Linked DNA regions of Homo sapiens: region 2 is linked to region 1. Evidence: promoter capture Hi-C in human tissues and cell types (Jung and others, 2019). All regions are on one chromosome and are shown on one strand. The core of a region is centred on a gene start or on the middle of the fragment in contact, and the rest is flanking DNA. Distances in the headings are between cores, read along the strand shown.

The links. The method cuts DNA at HindIII sites, captures the fragments that hold promoters and counts their contacts. A contact is called where the count stands out against the background at its distance.
Region 2: a fragment that was not itself captured here is called in contact with the fragment with the promoter of HOXC5 in region 1 in 4 of the 25 tissues and cell types used here (H1 embryonic stem cells, heart right ventricle, neural progenitor cells and 1 more).

The regions. Positions count from the first base shown.
Region 1 is chr12:54,029,685-54,036,677 of GRCh38, forward strand. HOXC5 (homeobox C5) reads left to right here and starts at 3,366. Exons shown (of 2, transcript NM_018953.4): 1 at 3,366-3,892; 2 at 4,594-5,677. The coding sequence starts at 3,439. The coding sequence ends at 4,808. It overlaps MIR615 (microRNA 615), which reads left to right and starts at 4,266; the gene lies at 4,266-4,361. HOXC6 (homeobox C6) reads left to right here. Exons shown (of 2, transcript NM_004503.4): 2 at 1-1,139. The coding sequence ends at 278. It also overlaps a transcript of HOXC4 not described here. RefSeq lists enhancers at 2,881-3,175, 3,170-4,321 and a silencer at 4,405-4,464. The HindIII fragment of the contact is 19,535 bases long and covers 1-6,993 here.
Region 2 is chr12:54,106,129-54,112,648 of GRCh38, forward strand. The region is part of intron 1 of FLJ12825 (a long non-coding RNA gene); the gene reads left to right. Among named protein-coding and RNA genes, the nearest start is that of LINC02381, 17 kb to the right of the region's middle. The HindIII fragment of the contact is 5,117 bases long and covers 1-3,868 here.

The sequences.
Region 1 (6,993 bases), core at 2,116-4,615:
GCCGCCAGATCTACTCGCGGTACCAGACCCTGGAACTGGAGAAGGAATTTCACTTCAATCGCTACCTAACGCGGCGCCGGCGCATCGAGATCGCCAACGCGCTTTGCCTGACCGAGCGACAGATCAAAATCTGGTTCCAGAACCGCCGGATGAAGTGGAAAAAAGAATCTAATCTCACATCCACTCTCTCGGGGGGCGGCGGAGGGGCCACCGCCGACAGCCTGGGCGGAAAAGAGGAAAAGCGGGAAGAGACAGAAGAGGAGAAGCAGAAAGAGTGACCAGGACTGTCCCTGCCACCCCTCTCTCCCTTTCTCCCTCGCTCCCCACCAACTCTCCCCTAATCACACACTCTGTATTTATCACTGGCACAATTGATGTGTTTTGATTCCCTAAAACAAAATTAGGGAGTCAAACGTGGACCTGAAAGTCAGCTCTGGACCCCCTCCCTCACCGCACAACTCTCTTTCACCACGCGCCTCCTCCTCCTCGCTCCCTTGCTAGCTCGTTCTCGGCTTGTCTACAGGCCCTTTTCCCCGTCCAGGCCTTGGGGGCTCGGACCCTGAACTCAGACTCTACAGATTGCCCTCCAAGTGAGGACTTGGCTCCCCCACTCCTTCGACGCCCCCACCCCCGCCCCCCGTGCAGAGAGCCGGCTCCTGGGCCTGCTGGGGCCTCTGCTCCAGGGCCTCAGGGCCCGGCCTGGCAGCCGGGGAGGGCCGGAGGCCCAAGGAGGGCGCGCCTTGGCCCCACACCAACCCCCAGGGCCTCCCCGCAGTCCCTGCCTAGCCCCTCTGCCCCAGCAAATGCCCAGCCCAGGCAAATTGTATTTAAAGAATCCTGGGGGTCATTATGGCATTTTACAAACTGTGACCGTTTCTGTGTGAAGATTTTTAGCTGTATTTGTGGTCTCTGTATTTATATTTATGTTTAGCACCGTCAGTGTTCCTATCCAATTTCAAAAAAGGAAAAAAAAGAGGGAAAATTACAAAAAGAGAGAAAAAAAGTGAATGACGTTTGTTTAGCCAGTAGGAGAAAATAAATAAATAAATAAATCCCTTCGTGTTACCCTCCTGTATAAATCCAACCTCTGGGTCCGTTCTCGAATATTTAATAAAACTGATATTATTTTTAAAACTTTATACCGGGAATTCTGTTAATTCGCTCGCCCGCCGGCCTCAGGGTGAGAGCTGGAGCAGGCTCCAAGCGCTCCCGCGCCTGCCGGCCCCCTGCAAGCCCCCAGCCCTCTGCACTCGCCTTCCCCGGAGCCCAGGCGCCCGGCCCCGGCCTTCTGTTCGTTCTCGCGATCGCACTGAGGGGCTGGGAGGCCTCTCTGGGCTCCCTGCGCGGAGCAACACACACACCCTGCGGGAAAAAGCCGCGTAGGATTTTGTTGCGGGGGGAGCTGGGATCAGTCGGTTTGGGCACCAACCCCACGCAGGCCTTTCTTCCTGCCTGTGGCAGCCGGTGTCCTCGGCGTCCGAACCCTGAGGCGCCCCGAAAGACCAGTAAAGAAGCACTATCCAGGCACCAGGGTCTCCTCCACCCACTCCCGGGAGTTGGAGGCGGGGGGCGCCGTGAGAGCAAGCCCCAGGCCCGCGCCAAGCTGGCTGTTGCGAAACGTAGCGGAGGCGGAGAGCGGAGGGAAAGAGAAGACCGCGGGACTGGAGCCCTGTCGGCAGGGATTGAGCGATTCAAGGACATCTCGAGAGAGAAAGCCTGGAAACTGAGCTCTCGCCTGCTCTGGTACTCCTGACGTGGCCGGGACAAAATTCCTTCTTCATTACAGCTCCAGCCGGGCTGGTTCCTTACTTTTCTCTCCTCAAACGGGTGAAGAGGCGGGTGAGGAGCGCAGCCGGACCCTAACCATTTATCAACCCTGGCCTTCTCTCTCCAAGCCTGGCCAGAGAAACCTGAGTGGGCCTACAGGGAGAGGTGTTGAGGAGGGTCTCCGGAGGGAAAAAATCCGCCAGAGTTTTCCGGGCCCTTCAGATTCCCTCCAGCGCCCCCACCCTCGCCTCCAGTGCCTCCACCAGTGAGGAGGGGGCCTTCTCCTGGCGGGGCGGAGATTTCCTGGGAAGAAGCAGGCAGGGAAGTATGAGACTTGGGGCTACGGGGGAAGAGGATGGGGCCGAATGGCTGCAGATACCCTGCGAAGGCTACCCAGGCGCCTGCCCTGCCCACCCCCCAGGTCCGCCCCATTCCTCTTGGTAGCTCAGAAATTGCTCTCTTGTGAACCTTATGGATTCAGGTCCCTGGAAAGCCTAGCCCAGAGACCTTTTCCCCAAAGGGCACATAACGGGCCTTTTCCTCTGCCATGCTCACGTAATATTTGTGGAGGCTTCAATCTTGCTTCTCCATGTCCTCAATTAACATCTATTTTCTGTCTAAAACCTCTGGCATAGGTACCACATAAGGATCGCACACAGGGAAACAGAGCAGTCCTCTAGACCATTGTCTGGCTCTGTCCGTGTCCACACACACACTTGAAAATTGCCTTGTTGCCACTCTGGGGACCCTAGCATGGTGAGGTCTAGCCAACTCCACCTGGCTCCTCACCTCCAGATCCATCCCAAACAGCCTGCAACACCCTCAGCTTCATGACCCCCCTATCTTGTTCTGACCACTCAGGATCCCTCCTCCTGGGCGTCCTGTCTACCTCTTCAGAAGCTAATTCTACTTTCTCTTGCTGATAGGCACCTCTTCAGCAGTAGTGGAGCCTTAGGGCCTGAGAGGCAAGGGACTTCTACCTTTGGTTTAGGGAACCTAAGTTAAACCCCATTGGTTCTCCAGCCTGGGCATAGGCCACCTTACCTAACTTAATCCCCTTTCCTCAGCCATTTTTGAAGATTGGAAGACCCTGGAGGTTGGGAGAACGGGACTTTCATTACAAAAAGCACTCTGTGCGTTATAAGTGGGGCCTCGTCTTTTCCCAATTTTAAATAGAATTTAAAAGGCTAGCTCAGGGGTTGCCCCAACAACCAGCTTCTCCTTCACAGTGTAGGAAATCCAGCCACCGGAAAGCAAGCTGGCGCTCCAGGATGCAATTCCCCCACATAGGCACCAGGTGTCGCTGTGGGCTTGTTGTCCCGGCTACCCCCAATTCCAAGAACCTTTTTTTTTTTTTCCCTCCCCCTTCCCTCTTTCTCTCTCTCACTCCCTCTCCCCCTTGGTTGGGCTTTGCCAACATATCGAGATGCTTTTCGCCGGCTTCCATCACTAACCTCCCGGAGGTCATCAAGCCAAATTTATGAGTGGCCGCTCGAGTCACGTGACTCTATTTAAGGCTCCCTTATTTGGGAAGAGCGCATAGGATAAAGAAAGAGATATCTCCACCTATAAATTGTCCACTTTGGAGAACAAAAAACCCCTCAACTTCAAAGAGTCACAAATCACCCTTAATCAAAAAGGGTGCAGAAATTTTTTTGGGCCCTCCCCGCCATGAGCTCCTACGTAGCCAATTCATTCTATAAGCAGAGCCCCAATATCCCTGCCTATAACATGCAAACTTGTGGGAACTATGGATCGGCCTCAGAGGTGCAGGCATCCAGGTACTGCTACGGCGGATTGGACTTAAGCATCACTTTCCCACCGCCTGCGCCTTCCAACTCTCTCCACGGGGTAGACATGGCTGCCAACCCCCGGGCTCACCCCGACCGCCCCGCCTGCAGCGCCGCGGCCGCTCCGGGACACGCTCCGGGCAGAGACGAAGCGGCTCCTCTGAACCCCGGGATGTACAGTCAGAAGGCGGCTCGCCCGGCGCTGGAGGAGCGAGCTAAGAGCAGTGGGGAGATCAAAGAGGAGCAGGCGCAGACAGGGCAGCCCGCCGGACTGAGCCAGCCACCGGCCCCGCCACAGATTTACCCGTGGATGACCAAACTGCACATGAGCCACGGTAAACTTTAGGACTTCATTTTGCGCTCTCGGGTCCGCCTGGGTTTTATAGGCCATGCGGGGCAAATAAAGAAAAAAAACCTGCGGCCATAAATTTTACGATCCAGGCATCAATGGCTCGTAAAACTGTCCACTAAAAGGCTTAGAGGCTGTGTGCGCCCAAATTTACGACGACATAATTGGATCATAGGAACAAAACGTGTATAAAAGGCAATATTCAATTTTTGGGGGAGAGGGAGGGAGTTAAAAAAATAGAGGGATCTGAAGGGTGAGGAGCGCGGGGCTCCAGAGCGGGGATCCCCCCGCGGCTCCCTCCCTCCCTCCCCTGCGGAGCCGGCTCCGCCGGCGCTTGCGGCTCCGGAGGATTCCAGCGACTCGGGAGGGGCGGGAGGGGGGTCCCCGGTGCTCGGATCTCGAGGGTGCTTATTGTTCGGTCCGAGCCTGGGTCTCCCTCTTCCCCCCAACCCCCCCTCAGCCCCTCCGGCTGCAGAGTGAAGGCTGCGGTGGAAAGTTTCCTGCCTGGGCGGAGGCGCCTCTCCCGGGGCTGGGCTGGGCTGGCCCGCCTGCGGCCCGCGTGGCCTGTCTTGCGGCTCTCGCCTCCTCTCCCTCCGGCCGCGGGTGGGGGCCTGGGCTGGGGTGGGGACGGGGGAACGCTGCAAGCTATTCACCCCTTCCTGGCTTGGGGTGGGGTTTATGTTCCAGAGACGGACGGCAAGCGGTCCCGAACCAGTTACACGCGCTACCAGACTCTGGAACTCGAGAAAGAATTCCACTTTAACCGCTACCTCACTCGCCGCAGGCGCATAGAGATCGCCAACAACTTGTGTCTCAATGAGAGACAGATCAAGATCTGGTTCCAGAACCGCAGGATGAAGTGGAAGAAAGATTCCAAAATGAAAAGCAAAGAGGCTCTTTAGAGGCAGCGGGGGAGGCCCGCAGAGCGCGCCCCTAGCCGGTTCCTGTCCCTGCGCCTTTCCTTTTCGCCTTTCCTCTCTATATTTCGGGTCGGGGGCAGGTGCTGGAGCACTGGGCTCCCGGGCCCCACAGACAAAAGCGCTTTTCCTTGGCATTCCGCATCCCTACCGACCCAGGGTTCCCGCGGGGCTGTCGGCGCTGCCCCATCTCCCCTCAGCTCGGCTCAGCTCGGTACCCGGGGCCCAGGGCAAGCTCCGCAGGACTTCCCCGGAGGGCTGCGGCGTACAGGCTGGCGCAGAACGAACCTTGGCCTGGGCCGTATCTCCGGCTCCCAGCCTCAGCGCGGCCCTCCCGAGTTAAGGTGGGCCCGGCCCGCGCCACAGGACCCTCGCCGGACCCTCTAACCTCGCCCTCTCCTTTGTTCCCGGCTGGACGGGTTAGACAGCCAAAGGCTGGCGAGAGTCTGGCCCTAGACTCGGGGTGCTTCCTTGTAGCGACTAAACTAGATTTTCACTTATGAATGATTTGCATATGAAAGGAGAGCATCGGCCTAGGGCCCCCACAGTTGCTCTATGCTTTCCAAACCTTATCTCCACAACCTCTTCCCCCCAAAACCCGGGAACCTCCCCAGCCTGCGCCTGCTGCATGCCCTCTCAGGCCGGCAGCCCCAGCCTGCTAGCTAGCTCAACTAGTGGGGTTTCCTGGCACTGGACCCCAGCAAGTGGTCCTAGAGGCCCTTTGCTGTCCCATAGTCCCTGCCACGAATTTCTGTGCCCTCCTGACCCATTGCTGTTGTCCAACTATTTATTGACTCTGGGTCCTTCCTGAAACTATATTTTGTCATATCAAATAAAGAGAGAACAGGACTAAAGATGCAGTGGCTCCTGTCTGTTTGGGGCATGTATTGGGTAAAATTGTCTAAATGGGCTGTGAGATGTAGAAGGAGACCCACAAACTTTAAGCCACCCCTTTAAAAAATTTTCTAGCTTCTAGGGGCAGTGAGTAGAGGGAGGTGAAATTGAGCTCCTTTCCTGTTCCTTGGCTGCAACAAGAGCCTCTGGGGGAAGAGAAGGGCACCTAGGCCTCGAGTACTGGCTTTTCCCATGCTGTGGCTGTCCAAGGCCTTCACGCCTCTGCACTCCAGGAGGCCTCTGGACTGGCAGCAGCCCCCACTGTGTGCCAAAGCTGCGGTGCAGGAACCAGTGGCTCCACCGTGCTCAGCCTTAGGACCTTCTGGGCCTCTGAAGATCTTTCCTGGGCCTAGGTGGTCCCTGAGAGGCCTTGCTGGACATAGAGGGAGGGCTGAGCCCTCACTCTAGGGACCCATTTGGTCTCATAAGGGCCTCTAGAGGGAGGTGGTATTGCTTGGTAAGGGGGTGTTGGGAGAGTTGGAGGAGGTGTGCCTCAGTATCTAAGATACTGGGGAAGAGGGAGCAGGGAGGACAATCTGCAGTGTGTATCAGCCTGGCAGGAAATGTTCAGACTGTTTCCACCACCTTCTAGGGCCTCGGGCTATGCAGGACAATTAACTGGGAAAGGAGCTGCATAGACCAGTGCTGGAGTCACGTCTGTCTGCCATCATTTATCTCAGTCTCTGGGATTTTGTGTGGAGGGGAGGATGGGTTAAAAGTGGGGGTGGGAGGAGGCAGATAATTCAGGTAGTGTCTGAGGATCAGGTCCTTCTCCAGGCTCCTGGGATGGGCTGGGGGAGGAAGCACTTTACAGTAGAAACAAATGTGGGAAGGGTCCATAAAACTTTACTGCATTTCCTCTCCCACCTCCCACAACAGGGTGATTTCCTGGAGCCAAGCCTAGGCCCCCCACACTGGTGGGGTGAGGGTCTGGAGCTTGGCTAAGGGATTGCACCAGCAGCCAAGAAGAAAGGGGAGCAGAGGGGCTCTGGGGAGGGGCAGGGGAATATTTATGATTATTAATGCTGATGCTCCTTGGATTTATTATAAGGACTAACTTCGCTGCATCCCACTGCCTAAGCTACCCATCAGTCATTTTTTAAAAGACCCAAGAGCCTTTCCTCACCCCATGCTTGGCACATAGGCAGTCTCAACAAATGCTTATTGAACAGTGCCCACAACTACCACCCTTCCCCTTCGCACTGCACTCAGGCCAGGTTAGGGCGCCTGTTGTCTCTCCTCAACTTGCACACAGCAGTTAACCCAGACCAGTGCT
Region 2 (6,520 bases), core at 60-2,559, 74 kb after region 1:
GGAGGAAGGACTTCTCAGTGTGACCCATGAGAGGAGTGGCTCTCCTGGGCCCCAGGCCCCAGGCTGCATGCGTATGGGAGGGAGGAGGAGAAGCAAGGAAAGGAGGAGAGACAGAAGTATATACTGAGCTGGTAGTTGGGGGAAGGGTTGGCGGGTGGGGAGAAGGGAAGAGAGGAGTCTGGGCCAAGGCCAGAGGTGTCTCCCTGGGGAGTCCTCGGAGCGGGCAGCCGGACGTCGCTCCATCCTTCCCGCCTGACGGATGCGTCTGCTGCGCAGGCACAAGCTGTCGGGCCAGGCCCTGCCAAGGCAGAACAGTGGCGCTTCTGTGCGCGCTGCTCCGCTCCGCTCCGGAGGATGGGGCCCGCCCGGGAAGCCAGGGAGTGATGGAGAAAGCAGACGTCCCAGAACAGGAGCCGTGGGGTCACAGAAGCACGCCTGCCTCCCGAAACAAGGGGCCACAGGACGAGGTGGGAGGGGACCGGGAATCAACGCGGGGGAGCGTTTGGGGGAATTGTTGGTCGAAAGAAGAGAGGCAGAAGGACGCGCGCTGAAGGAGCCTGGGGATGAAGAGCTCGATGATTTGGCCACAAGCCCCCTCACCTTTAAGAACAAAGCTTTCTGCATTCAGTTGCAGAGTTTTGTTTCCCGGTCAGATGCTCAGAGACCTTCCACCCTGTCCCCCACCCCTCAGCCTTGCCCATCTCCACGAGCATCTTCCGCGCCCTCGCCCGGGACTCGGAGCCCACCACCCTCCGCCTCCGCCTGGCCTGGCCCGCGAGATCCCTGCCGCTCCAGTTCGGAATCTGGGATCCGCAGGCTCCCAGATCCGCCCCTGGCCCGGCTCCGACCCGCCCGTCAGCCGCCTCCCACTCAGCGTTAATTAAAACTTGCGAGATGGAGAGGCTGGCGCGGACGGCTCCGTTTTATTTGCAGCATCTTTCATGCTGCTGACGATCGTAAAGGGCTTTAATATTGAAATATGGGCCATTTTCCCAGCTCCAGCCCTCGCCGCGCTCTCTCCGCACCCCCACACCCAGCCACCCCGCGCTTGATGAAAGAGCCCCTGCAAATCCATTAAGGAGAGATAATTGAAAACTCCGGGGTAATATTTAAGACCGCGTGCCGACGCGGGGTGGAGGGCCTAACTGCGCCCGCTTTGTCCGTCAGTGCTGGTGCGTGCCAGTCCCTAGCGCTCTAGGCCCACCAAGGCCCCGCCGACGCCCAGCCAAGGCCCGCCGTCTTAGCGGTGCCTCCTCACTCCCTGCACTCAAAGGGCTGGCTCTGCGCTAACCTGGCTGTGCCTGGAGACCCGACTTGCCTGGAGACCCGAGTTCCAAAAGGAGCCACAGGGCACGCTGTGTGACAGATGGATTAGGGCCAGCATGAACGGGGGCCAAAGCATCTTGTCCCACTGCTTCAGCTTCGGTTTGGTGCACCAGCATCAGGCACTGCTCAAGCTTCTGAGCACGGCATCCCCTCTGCCTGCAAGCTTTTCCCTCCAGCACTTTCTACTTGCGGAACTGCTGTTCCTCTTTCAAAACCAACCCAGTTCCACCCCAAGTAAGTGCAGTGGGGTATGGAACGTGGGTGGGAGTATAGACACACCAAGATCCTGGTGTGACCATTGTTGCAGCTGCATGATGAGGACACTATACTGCTCTGTTTTCGTATGTTTTCAATGTTCCACAACAAACATGTTTAGAAAGCAGCTGAGGCATCTTCTTTTACGCCTCCCTCTCCCATAAATACAGACTACCTGTTATCTTGTACATTGATGTTCCTTAGCACATCGTGTTGCCATTATCTGTTTAAAGTCTTTCTGCCTACTCAGCTGTGACATCTTCAGAACAGGGATCAGGTCTAATTTCACTCCTTAGCCCTTGCTCCAGGCCCAGTGCAAGGCACATAACATGCGCTCAGTAAACATCACTGAATAGGCTGTTCTCTGGGTACCTAGAAGTCTCTAGGGCTTAAGGTTAGGATACAAGCACACGGAAGGAGGGTAGGGCAAAGCATGGAAGAGGGGTGGGGTCTGTGAGGCTGGGTTGGGGGTCATGTCTGTCTCCCACAATGACTGGCTTCAGGATGTTCCCAGAATGGGAAAAGGGTGGAGGACCATGTTCTGCACTGTGATTTAGGAATCCTTAGGTCTCTACCTGGGACTTTTGGGGATGTTTCTCCACTTCACTCCATTTGGCTTACTCTCCCAATCAGGTTAGACACACACACACACACACACACACACACACACACACCACCACACACCTTAGACAGGGAAAGAGTGGGAAAGAGGGAAGCAGAAGAGATTATTTGAAGACCTACTTGTGCAAAAGGCATGAGTAGTTCAGGCATTTCCATGGATACCCAGCTAACCTCCTACTACAGGGCCTTTCCTACTTACCCCTGTTGCCCAGTCTTCCCCAACACTGTGTCCAACACCCATACAGGGGTTGTACTCACAGGATGGCACTATCGAGGAAGAGGGGGCTGTTCTGACTCAGCCCCCCTAACCGCACATTGGCCCTGAAGCCACAGTTGCAATGATGCCCTCTCTATGGCCAGAATGAGATCCAAACCATTCCAAAGTTCCATTTCCAAACAAGGACTCCTCGTTAGAACCACAAAACATCAGAGCTGGAGGCAACCAAAAGAGCACTGTGTCCCCTCTTAGTATCTGTGGGGCAACTAAGACTTAGAAAGGGTCTGTGATGTGCCCCAGGTCACAAAGCCATTGGTAACTGGGCGGGCGGGGTGGCTCACGCTTGAAATCCTAGCACTTTGGGAGGCCAAGATGGGTGGATCATTTGAGGTCAGGAGTTCGAGACCAGCCTGGCCAACATGGCGAAACCCTGTCTCTACTAAAAATATAAAAATTAGCGGGCAGTAGTGGAGCATGCCTGTAATCCCAGCTACTCAGGAGGCTGAGGCAGGGGAATTGCTTGAGCCTGGGAGGCAGAGGTTGCAGCGAGCTGAGATCACACCACTGCACTCCAGTCTGGGCGACAGAGTGCGACCCTGTCTCAGGAAAAAAAAAAAAAAAAAAAAAAAGCCATTGCTAACAAAACCAGTGCTAGAATCCCAGCAAGTTAGTGGTGGAGCTGGAATTAGAATCCCAATCTCTTGACCCACTTAAATATATACAATTGGTATTCGAAATGCTTTTCACAAACATTATCTCATTTAATTCTCTCTCTCTCGATAGGATCTCACTCTGTCACCCAGGCTGGAGTGCAGTGACATGATCATGGCCCACTGCAGTCTCAAGCTCCTGGGCTCAAGCAATGCTCCCACATCAGCCTCAGGCACATGCCACCACACCTGGCTAATTTTTGTATTTTTGTAGAGACAGGGTTTCGGCATGTTGCCCAGGCTGGTCTTGAACTCCTGGGCTCAAGAAATCCTCCTACCTTGGCCTCCCAGAGTGCTGAGATTACAGGCATGAGCCACCGTACCTGGCCTCATTTAATTCTCACAAACCTATGAGATAGCGTCACAATTCCCATCTACAGATGAGAAAAATGAGGCTCAGGGAGAGCCATGATTTGTCCAGTGTCATACACGGGTGGAAAACAGATCCAGGATTTGAACCCCAGTTTGACTGGCTCCAATTCCAGTGCCCTTTCCACTCACTTCTCCAGTATCTCCCCCTACACCCCACCCAGCCAAGTCAGGCCAGTTTCCCAGACACTCACCCTTCATCCCTGGACATCTCCAGCCAGAGGTCTTTTTTCTCCTTAGCCCAGCTTCCCCCACCCAGGGCAATGTTCTTTGCCCCAGATTTGGAGGTGGCGGTGTGGTAGTCCCCGCCGTGGTTCTGGGTACAGGCCTCCATGAACTGAAGCCATGCACAGCCTGGCCTCCTGTGCGCAGCCCTACTCCTGTTCGTGGCCACGGAGGCCTCAGCCATAAATCCCCAGGTCTCAGCTCATAACCATTAGCAAGCGATTGGGCTCATCAGGACGCCTTTATGAGACTCAGGTCAAATAAATGGATTGCCGGAGGTCAGGAACAAGGGATCTCCTTGGCTTGCCTTGCCTTGCTTCCGAGATGCTCCCACCACGCAGAGGTTGGCAGATTCTGTTTGACTCACAGCTGTAGGTGGAAGTGGGGGCATTGTCACAGTGGGATAAAGATGTACAGTATCCCCTGGTACTCCACACCCATAGAAGGAAAAGCGCTTGGAGATGCACATCCTCAGATAGCCCACAGTCATTAGGGCTGGAGGAACGCACACACAGAGGCACATATACACACTCAGACCCCCATCTCTGATTCAAATCCACTCTTCAGCAACCAACCCCCCAACCCCACCCATCTCATATCCTCTGATGTCCTCACACTCCATTCCTCCTGTGAGGTATTTCCTGAAACACTGCTTCTCAAACACCACTGCGCATACAGATGACCTGGGACCTGGTTAAAATACAGATTCTGACTCAGTAGATCTGGGGTGGCACCCGAGCTCTGTTTTCTAACCAGCTTCCAGGTAAGGCCAGGGCTGCTTCTCCAGAGATTTTAAGCAATGGTCCTCCCACATTGGAAGGGTAGGGTCTTTCAAAATGTAAAAGAGATAGGAGTGTGCAGTTTGGGAAAGCTCCTCTCCCACTCCTATCCCCCAAATGCTGCTGTGCACACCCAGGTGACTGAACTGTTTCTAGAATGCTGTTACCTCACTCTTTACATGGCTCCCTCTCATTCTTCAAACCTCAGCCCAAGTGTCACTTCCTCAGAGAAACTTTCTCTGGCCACCCAATTTATTTTATTTTATTTTATTATTTTATTTTATTTTTTTGAGACGGAGTTTTGCTCCTATTGCCCAGGCTGGAGTGCAATGGCATGATCTTGGCTCATGGCAATCTCCGCCTCCTGGGTTCAAGGGATTCTCCTGCCTCAGCCTCCCAAGTAGCTGGGATTATAGGCATGCGCCACCACGTCTGGCTAATTTTTGTATTTTTAGTAGAGACAGGGTTTCTCCATGTTGGTGAGGCTGGTCTCGAACTCCTGACTTCAGGTGATCCGCCTGCCCCAGGCTTCCAAAGTGCTGGGATTACAGGCGTGAGCCACCATGCCTAGCTGACCACCCAATTTAAAGGGTCCCTGCTCCACCCTGTCTGTGATTACCCACTTCACAACAGGTCTCAAAATTGCATGTATGTATTTGCTAACTTGCTTACTTATTTTTTTGTCTGTTTCACTCTCCGAAATGTATGGTCCTTGAGTTCAGGGATTATGCCTGTTCCATTTATTCATGAATTCTTGGCAACCGGTGCCTAGTGCATAGTAGATACTCAGTAAATATTGCTGGATAGGCCAGTCACAGTGGCTCATGCCTGTAATCCCCATACTTTGGGAGGCTGAGGCGGGCAGATCATTTGAGGTCACGAGTTCGAGACCAGCCTGGCCAACGTGATGAAACCTCGTCTCTACTAAAAATACAAAAATTAGCTGGGCATGGTGGCACAAGCCTGTAATCCCAGCTACTCTGGATGCTGAGGCGGGAGAATCATTTGAACCTGGGAGACACAAGTTGCAGTGATCCAAGACTGCCACTGCACTCCCACCTGGGTGACAGAGGGAGCCTCTGTCTCAAGAAAAATAAAAAAAATAAAAAATAAGAAATAAAAGATTATCTGAAAGAATATCTGAATCCAGGACTGAGGCCGTAGGTAATCTGAGAAAGTATCTTGGAGGAAGGAAAATGGGAGGAAAAGAACATTGTGTGAAGGACTTAAGAAAGGTGACTCGAGGAAAGTGGGGAGGCAAGGGTATTCAGATAAGATTGGCCCCATTGGTCCTGGGTTGATATGACAGGGGTGAGGAAGGGTCCTGGAGGGAGATATCCTGGGGTTAGCAGCAGATGCTGCAGGGTCTTGGAAACCATAGCAGGCACTAAGAAGACACATGGGCTTCCCTCCACCTCATGGACAAGGACCTTCATTTTTATTCATTCTTTCCTACACTTGACAAATTCTTACTGAGATCTTATTAGGCACCAGGCACTGTGCTGGGTGCTGAATATTCAGGAATGAGCACAATGGGTCTGGTTCCTACCCTCCTAGAGATTACAGTCCAGTGGGAGAGACTGACAGTAAACATATTAATATGTTACAGTTGGGCCAAGTCTACAAAGGATAGGGTATGATAACAGGTATGATGGGTGGGTTCCCTAGGGAGAAGATTCCCTAGGGAGTGACAGTCACCCAGAGTGCTGATGGGTGGAGGTCTTCCTTGCCAGCCCCCTGCCAAGCTTTCATCCTGGACATTCCTGCATTCCTCTGCACTGTCCCTTTAAGAGGAGCATCTCTTCCCTGAGCAAAGGCGGTTCGGGCACACAGCCTGAGCCTGCCAAGGTTGTGGGCTATAAATCAACGCTGGCACTCCCTTGGCAGTGGGCTCTCCTCTGAGCTGCCCAGATGGCGGGCAAGCCTGGGGCTCCAGGGGCAGCCAGGCACTCAGGAGGGGGGAGGCGGGCATGGTGGGGACACAGCTGGGCCCCAGGCTCCTGATGGCAGCTGCCCAC